2 separate regions of the Homo sapiens genome follow, and region 2 is linked to region 1. Evidence: promoter capture Hi-C in 16 types of primary human blood cells and fetal thymus (Javierre and others, 2016). All regions are on one chromosome and are shown on one strand. The core of a region is centred on a gene start or on the middle of the fragment in contact, and the rest is flanking DNA. Distances in the headings are between cores, read along the strand shown.

Region 1 (4,288 bases), core at 1,338-3,837:
CGAACCTAATGGACTCATCTGGTTCTTTCATTCTGGAAGGCTTCCAAGCCCTTCCACACCAGCCCCTTTCCTCTCTGCAGTAGAGGAAGTGGAGCCGGAGAATAAACAACTCCTGGAAGGCCACCATCTCTTGACGCTGCAGATCTTCATTTTCTTTGGAGAAAATGTATACAAAAAGCTTGTCTTATAAGATTCTGTGGTTTCAGCTCTTCTATTGCACTGGGCCATGAAGTTTTTTAAAAATCTGAATGCAAACACATCAGTAAGAGTGTTAGCTCTGTTGCTGCAGTGTGACCAGGAACCAGGCTCAGTGGCCACTGGAACCCTTCGACTCTGTCATGCATCTATGCGCTCCTCCGGTTTATGGGGGCTAAACTGCTATGGATACCAGCATTTTTGTTTTTCATTGAGATAATTTATCCAAACTTGGAAGTGACGTCAAAAGGGAAAAAAAAGGTTGCATGCTTTTTTCCCTGCTAACGCAAGTTCAGTGTTTTACAACCCCAACAATCACTTGACTTTCTAGGAGAAATAACTAAACTATTTACCACTGATTGTGGGTCACGCATTTTACAATCTGCAAAGCTAATTCTCCTTTCCATCAAGAAGAAAAGACAATCCCAAAGGCTGTGGTTTCAATGCACACAGGATATTCACCAATCTTATTATCTAATCTGGCAATCTTCTCTCAGCATTCCTGTTACCCACTCACTAAGAAAATCCTAGTTTTGTGTATTCTCTTTTGAACTGACATTCCTATCCTGCTGTATACTGCATTAATGACTGAAATATAACCTGACAAGAGCTATTTACATGAGAATTATACTTCTAACATTTTGAAAATTATACATTGATGGGTTGTAAAAATGTTTTCCAAAATCAACAGAAATACATGTTTAATACACAAAATTCAGAAAATATAAACAAGCATAAAAATACAAAAATAAAAATTTACAATCCTCTTACACAGCTCCAAGCACCATCACTATTTTTTGGTGCCTGCTGGGTCAATTGTTTTTCTAGATATAAACTCTTCTTTTTACATAAAAGGGGATAACAGTATACAAGCTGCTCCCCGGCCTGCTTCTCTTCTCTCAGCAACAGCTAATCCTCCTCTGCAACACGGTTGCAGGGACTCCACCATTTACCTACCCGGTGTCCTACCAGGCTTTTGCCCAGTTCCTCGTTATCAGAAGACATTGTGTATTGAACATCTCTGAGGCCACCTAGAGAACCTGTGCTCTTTGTATGGAAACTGGATGCTCAGGAAGAACTTCCTTAACAACCACAGCCTCCATGACGGCCAATCTGAAAGTGAGGCACAGAAGTGTTCAAGCTCAGTGGGGAGCTGTGGCCATCTCATATTCCCTCAATCACTCACACTTCCTGCACCATTGCTCTTTCCTCTCACAACCTTCCTGAAAAGTTGTATGTAAATAAAAATCAAAATACGGGAGTGAGGTAAGCAGAAGCTGGATAGTTACAGATTTCACACAGAGGGTAAACTGAAACAGGAGTCAGAAGCAGCCGCCTCGCGCCAGTCTTTCAGAGAAGAGTCACTTACAGCAGAATCTACACAGGCTGGGGAGCCCCTGGCTCCCCTCCCTACTGTCCACACCCAACCCCAACCTAGAGCAGCTGGCTATAGGGCCCAGAGCCCAGGCGGGTCCCACCTCCTGCTGACCTGACCCAGCGCCCGCTCTCTCCCCCGCACACTTTGGTGACCTTACCCAGCGTCCCTCCCCGCTCCTACAGGTTCTGACTGACCCAGCGTCCCTCCGCCTCCCACACCATGTTGAGCTGCACCTTGTCCCCTTCCGCCCCAGCTAACTCGGTGACCAGTGGAGGCCACACCCACGTGACACCTGCTGTCCTTGACAGCAGCTCCGACGGCACCTCTGTGGCTCTGCAGGAGCCGCCTCCCCGCCTCGTGGGCACACAGGTGAGCTGACCGTACTTGCCCAGCCGGTCTGAGGGAAGCGAGGTCAGGGGCGACGGCGCCGCCTCCGCCTCCGCCTGTCCCCTCCCTCCGTCCGGCATCCGCGCCGCTCAAGGACTCCAAAGTCAGCGTCGCGGTGAGGAGCCCCCCACGCCCAACCCGCGCAGGCAGGACCCCGGGCTGCGGGGCTCGAAAGTCCCCCACAAGCTGCTGTCCGGGAACCGCACGGCCCGGGGTGCCGCACGCCCACCGGAAGGCAGGGCTGGGACCGCGGACGCCAGGAGCCACCCCGGCCCCTCACCCGGGCTCCCCCTCACGTGGGCTCCCGCGCGCCCATCTGGGTTCCCCCTCAGCTGAGTTCCCGGCCCCTCACCTGGGATCCCCGGTCCCCTCACCCGGGCTTCCCAGCCCCCTCGCCTGGGCTCCACGCGCGCTCACCTGGGCTGCCCCTCACCTGGGTTCCCGGCCCCTAACCCGGGCACCCCGCGCGCTCACCTGGGCTGCCCCTCACCTGGGTTCCCGGCCCTCACCCGGGCTCCCTGAGCGCTCACCTGGGCTGCCACTCAGCCGGGCTCCCTGCGCTTGGCGCCGCCCCGCCCCTGCAGGACTCCCGGCAGTCACTGACCTCATTGCCGCCCAGTCACGACTGGCCGGCCTCAAACACCGCCCGCGCACGCGCGTTCGCACGCGCGTGCGCACGCGTTCTGCCCCCCTGGGGGCGTCGCTACGAGAGGCCCCGCCTAGGCGCTACGACGGCGGCGGGCGCGGGAGGGGCGGGGCGGCGGGCGCGGGAGGGGCGCGGCGGGGGGCGGGGCGCGGCGCGGGGGGCGGGGCGCGGCGGGGGGCGGGGCGCGGCGGGGGGCGGGGCGCGGCGGGGGGCGGGGCGCGGCGGGGGGCGGGGCGCGGCGGGGGGCGGGGCGCGGCGGGGGGCGGGGCGCGGCGGGGGGCGGGGCGCGGCGGGGGGCGGGGCGCGGCGGGGGGCGGGGCGCGGCGGGGGGCGGGGCGCGGCGGGGGGCGGGGCGCGGCGGGGGGCGGGGCGCGGCGCGGCGGGCGCTGTGGGGCGGCGGGGTGGACGCGCTGAACCACGGCCGGCGGGAGGGGCGGGGCCGGGCTGAACCATGGCGGGCGGCGGCATGGGGGCGGTGGGGCTCCGCGGGCAGCCTGGTTGCGCTGCACCCGGACGGGGCCGAGGGGACCTGAAAGCTGCGGCAGAGCCTGACCGCGCCGTTCTCCAGAAGAGCCCCGGCCGCGGCTGAGTCGCGCTCCGGGTGTGGACGGAGCCGGAGCCTCCCCGGGGCTCGGTGAGGACACAGGGCCCAAGCCCCGGACCTTCAAGTCTTGACCGAGCGCATCCCCGGCCCTTCTGCGCCCACACCTGAGTTTTTGTCTGTAGGAGTTTCCGCAGTTTGCTAAGGTTGTTATTCGAGTTACTTATGTTTCTTCTCTCTAAGGTTGTTATTCGAGTTACTTATGTTTCTTCTGTCTAATGTGTTTTGTTCCCTCTTTAGAATCGACATCTAGAGGAGTACTCACCACTTAATTGATGATCAATACACGTTCCTTGAAAGAACCGATAGCATGCGATCGATACAGAGCATCTGCACTGGGATTGTCCGCCCCGCCTGTCAGGGAGGCCTCGGGGGCTAATGGAGCTGAGGGTATAGTCGGCCTTGGACCCTCGCTTTTTTCCTTTCCTGTACTATGAAGATAACTGCCTTATCTCCCCCTCAGGACTGTTTTGGGGATTAAATAGGACGTTTAAATTACCAACGCTCTTTGAAATAAACATTTCAAAATTATTATAACCCTTTAGTACATGTGGGAAAACGTTGACATTCATGTTCAAGTTTATTTTTCTGCTGGCTCATTTAGGTTTGTTGAAGCCTTGAGTCCCTAGGATTGTCTAAGAACATGGGTAAATGTGTGTGGAGGCCTCCCTGGAGGCCAGAGAACTGCCAGCAGCCTTCATGATGTTAGGGGAACAGGAACCTAGGAGAGCCAGGGTGACATCGTTTTAAAATCAACAACCCATCTTGGCGGGCGCGGTGGCTCAAGCCTGTAATCCCAGCAGTTTGGGAGAAAAAAATTAGCCGGGTGTGGTGGTGGGCACCTGTAATCTCAGCTACTCAGGAGGCTGAAGCAGAATTGCTTGAACCCAGGAGGCAGAGGTTGCAGTGAGCTGAGATCACGCCATGGCACTCTAGCCTGGGCAACAAGAATGAAACTCTGTCTCAAAAAAATAAAAATAAAATAAAATAAACTCCATCTTAAAACCAGTGAAACCACCATTGCAAAATTATAACTGAGACAGTGAGAGATCTGACCTAACCAACTCCATCCTACTTTTAA
Region 2 (4,582 bases), core at 1,291-3,790, 1.1 Mb after region 1:
TCTTGGACTTTCTGTGTTTTCAGGGGTGGCAGCTGTGGATTCTCTTGCATCTTCTGTGTTCACAGGGGTGGCAGCTGTGGATTCTCTTGCATCTTCTGTGTTCACAGGGGTGGCAGCTGTGGATTCTCTTGCATCTTCTGTGTTCACAGGGGTGGCAGCTATGGATTCTCTTGGACTTTCTGTGTTCACAGGGGTGGCAGCTGTGGATTCTCTTGCATCTTCTGTGTTCACAGGGGTGGCAGCTGTGGATTCTCTTGCATCTTCTGTGTTCACAGGGGTGGCAGCTATGGATTCTCTTGGACTTTCTGTGTTCACAGGGGTGGCAGCTGTGGATTCTCTTGCATCTTCTGTGTTCACAGGGGTGGCAGCTGTGGATTCTCTTGCATCTTCTGTGTTCACAGGGGTGGCAGCTGTGGATTCTCTTGCATCTTCTGTGTTCACAGGGGTGGCAGCTATGGATTCTCTTGGACTTTCTGTGTTCACAGGGGTGGCAGCTGTGGATTCTCTTGCATCTTCTGTGTTCACAGGGGTGGCAGCTGTGGATTCTCTTGCATCTTCTGTGTTCACAGGGGTGGCAGCTGCGTTTCTTCCCTTCCAGCTCTTGCACACGTTGTCTCCCTGGTGCCCTGCCTGGAGCCCCAGTGTGGAGGTGACCACAGTGATGTCACAGGACCTGTTGGAGAAAAGGCTTTCAGCATTTCAACATGACTTATGACCTTGCCTGTGGGTTCTTGTAGGTATCCGGTATCCGATTTAGATTTCTTCCTTTGAGGCAGTTTGATTTGAGATTTTATCATACACTTTACATGACTGGAATCTCGTGAATATCTTGCATGGAATATTTGTAGCAGCATCCACGGGAGAGATGGGCCCGTGGCCCTCCCTTCTTGCAATGCCCTTGTCAGGGGAGTGGAGACGCTGGAGGCCTCACAGAGCTGCGAGGGGTGGGTGCTGTGAGGGGTGGGAGCTGTGACGGCCAGAGCTTTTGTGAGGGCTGGGTGCTGTGATGGGTGGGAGCTGTGAGGGGTGGGTGCTGTGAGGGGCCAGAGCTTTTGTGAGGGGTGGGAGCTGTGAGGGGTCACTGCTGTGAGGGGTGGAAGCCGTGAGGGGTCACTTGCTGTGAGCAGTAGGAGCTGTGAGGGATCAAAGCTGTGAGGGGTCGGAGCTGAAGCTGTGAGTTGGGAGCTGTGAGGGGTCACTGCTGAGAGGGACTGGAGCTTTGAGGGGTGGGTGCTGTGAGGGGTGGGAGCTGTGAGGGGCCGGAGCTTTGACGGGTGAGAGCTGTGAGAGGTGGGAGCTGTGAGGAGTCGGAGCTGTGAGGGGTCACTGCTGTAAGGGGTGGGAGCTGTGAGAGGTCACTGCTGAGGGATGGGAGCTGTAAGGGGTCACTTGCTGTGAGTAGGAGCTGTGAGGGATCAAAGCTGTGAGGGGTCGGAGCTGAAGCTTTGAGGGGCCAGAATCATAAGAGGCCAGAGCTGTGACGGTCGTCAGAGCCATGAGGGCCCAGAGCCGTGAGGGACGTTGGAGTCGTCAGGGGTCATTATCTTTTCTGCTATCTGGAAACGGGTATGTAAGACATGTGTTGGCTTTTTCTTTTCTTTTGAGATGGAGTCTCGCGCTGTCACCCAGGCTGGAGTGCAGTGGTGCAATCTGGGCTCACTGCAAGCTCCGCCTCCCAGGTTCAAGCGATTCTTCTGCCTCAGCCTCCGGAGTAGCTGGGACTACAGGCACCTGCCACCATGCCTGGCTAATTTTTGTATTTTTAGTAGAGACTGGGTTTCACCGTGTTAGCCAGGATGGTCTCAATCTCCTGACCTCGTGATCCGCCCGCCTCGGCCTCCCAAGACTTTTTCTTTAAATGTTTAGTAAAAGTCACAGGTGAACCTATCTAAGCCTGAAGTTCTTTTGTGGGATTATTTTTAACTAGACTCATTTTTTAAGACAGATGCAGGAATATTGTGATTTTCTGTTTCTTTCTGTGTCCATTGGCTAAATTGTACTTTTCTCAGGAATCTGTTTCTAACGGATTAACTGATTTGCATGTCGTTGTGTGCAGTATCCTTTCATTACCTTCTTAACACCAACAAGACGTATCGGCACTTCCGTGTTCCCGATGCTGGATTTTCAAGCCTCCTCTCTTAAACTAGACTTGGAAATCAGAGAAATTGGGAGGAAAAAAGCAGCCTATACTTAGACCACCCAAGGAGTAACTGCAGGGAGCATCCTGAGAAAAGGATGTCCAGTCTCTTTTTTTTTTAATGTATATTAACTTTTCCTTTTCAAAAGTACACGCATACACATTTATGTGAAAAAAATATGACAAACTTAACATTTTATGGCCTTTTTGCCTCCTTCACCTTTTTAAATTACTGTTTTATAGTCTTATAAAAATAGATCAATAGCGCAGTCGATCTCAACAGGGCAACCATTTGTTTGTCTTGTAGTCTTAGGAGGGGAAGCTGACCCCGGGGTACGACACTGGCGATGAGCGGCACTGACAGAGCTGGCAGAGAAGGACGTGCCGGGAGGAGCCTGGGGGGTGATGAGCAGCATTCCGCAGTGTTCTTGCTGGGTGATGAGGGTCGCCCCCGTGACCTGTCGCATCCTAGAGGGGCTTCCTGTGGGTGGGAAAACACTCGATGTGTTACTTATCTCCAAATTCATGAAGGCAGTCACATTTTTTAATAGACACCTAAGAGGAGAGGCTTAATTTCATCTTTTTTTAACAGAACCTGGGAAATTAAAATGGATTGCCTAGACGTGGTTGGTTTTAAACATCAGTGTGTTCAGGGCAGACCCAGAGGCTGCTGTTCAAAGACGTCTGGACCAGGCTGGTTGGTCAGACCTGCGCAGTGGACCCCAAAAGCAACAACACACACTCGCAGATGAAATTATTCAAACACCCACTGGTGAGTGAGGAGCGAGATGAAGGTGTCGAGGAGACTCAGGCTTGGCGGCTTCATCTTGGGACTGTGTGCGGAGCTGCTTCAGCCTGTGCCACGCTGTGGTGGTGGAGGCTGTGCAGAACGGATACCAATCACAACAAGACACGGTGGGAACTCTCTTCCACAAAGCGGCAGCAATGTCATCTCACAGTTCCACAGCGGCGTTCAGTTTGACCGTGAACAGAGCTGGGGGGTGTCTACATCCAATGAAGAGGGGAGGCTGGTGCTTGGTAAAATACTTCCTGTATTTTCAGGGTGAGAGAAACCGATGCGACTGCTTTATCGAGTCATGGGGTGGGACTGCGTCACAGCTTGCGGTGTCCGCAGCTGGCGAAGAGCCCGGAGCTCACCCTCTGCAGGGTTCCTGTCCAGCATGCGGGCAGGCCCTGGGCTTTGAGGGCGGTGTGCTTGAGGCTGTTGAGACAGAGGAGAATAGGAAACCGCTTTGAAGAGCTTCATTGTGGAAGAGGAACTCATGTATTCTATCTCATTTCAGAGGTGAAGGGAAAGCGCTTGAGTGGAAATGATAGGGAATCTGCCCTTACAGTGTCTCACAAACTTCACTCACGTTGTTTCATCTTGATTCTTCACAATCTGTGATGGGGTGCACAGCTCAGAAAACTCCAACAGGCGCTTCCTAAAATGAGAACTGTCTGAACCCCCGCCCTTGGCGTGGTGCAGCGGCAAGCTTTATAGTTCTAGGTCTGCTCGGGCAACACCCGGGAGCCGTGTGCCGGCCGTGGCACAGACGCCCGTGGTATAGACTTTACCCATCAGTGTCTGGGCGGGGCTTGGGTGTGGGGCGGGGCGTGTGCGCCATGTGCCGTCTGTTCTTGGCCTGCACACACCCTCTGTTCCCCCCGCATGGCGCCAGTTACTTATCTGATACCCTTCTGTCAGGGAGCAGCAGCACGGGTAGTGTGCCTCTGTCCTCACGAGGGGCCGCCGCGCCTCTGTCCTCACGAGGGGCCGCCGCGTCTCTGTCCTCGCCGAGGGGCCGCCGCGTCTCTGTCCTCGCCGAGGGGCCGCCGCGTCTCTGTCCTCGCCGAGGGGGCGCCGCGTCTCTGTCCTCACGAGGGGCCGCCGCGTCTCTGTCCTCACGAGGGGCCGCCGCGTCTCTGTCCTCGCCGAGGGGCCGCCGCGTCTCTGTCCTCGCCGAGGGGGCGCCGCGTCTCTGTCCTCACGAGGGGCCGCCGCGTCTCTGTCCTCACGAGGGGCCGCCGCGCCTCTGTCCTCGCCGAGGGGCCGCCGCGTCTCTGTCCTCGCCGAGGGGCCGCCGCGTCTCTGTCCTCGCCGAGGGGGCGCCGCGTCTCTGTCCTCGCCGAGGGGGCGCCGCGTCTCTGTCCTCACGAGGGGCCGCCGCGTCTCTGTCCTCACGAGGGGCCGCCGCGTCTCTGTCCTCACGAGGGGCCGCCGCGTCTCTGTCCTCACGAGGGGCCGCCGCGTCTCTGTCCTCGCCGGGGGGGCGCCGCGTCTCTGTCCTCACGAGGGGCCGCCGCGCCTCTGTCCTCACGAGGGGCCGCCGCGCCTCTGTCCTCACGAGGGGCCGCCGCGTCTCTGTCCTCGCCGAGGGGGCGCCGCGTCTCTGTCCTCACGAGGGGCCGCCGCGCCTCTGTCCTCACGAGGGGCCGCCGCGT

What was found. The method cuts DNA at HindIII sites, captures the fragments that hold promoters and counts their contacts. A CHiCAGO score of 5 or more calls a contact.
Region 2: a fragment that was not itself captured here is called in contact with the fragment with the promoter of CLN8 in region 1 in 1 of 17 cell types (monocytes); the score reaches 5.2 in monocytes.

The regions. Positions count from the first base shown.
Region 1 is chr8:1,762,088-1,766,375 of GRCh38, reverse strand. It overlaps CLN8 (CLN8 transmembrane ER and ERGIC protein), which reads right to left and starts at 2,587. Exons shown (of 3, transcript NM_018941.4): 1 at 2,491-2,587. It overlaps CLN8-AS1 (CLN8 antisense RNA 1), which reads left to right and starts at 1,792. Exons shown (of 2, transcript NR_134303.1): 1 at 1,792-1,942; 2 at 3,448-4,288. The HindIII fragment of the contact is 15,536 bases long and covers 181-4,288 here.
Region 2 is chr8:675,828-680,409 of GRCh38, reverse strand. All of the region lies in intron 3 of ERICH1 (glutamate rich 1), which reads left to right. Among named protein-coding and RNA genes, the nearest start is that of ERICH1, 53 kb to the left of the region's middle. The HindIII fragment of the contact is 2,190 bases long and covers 1,446-3,635 here.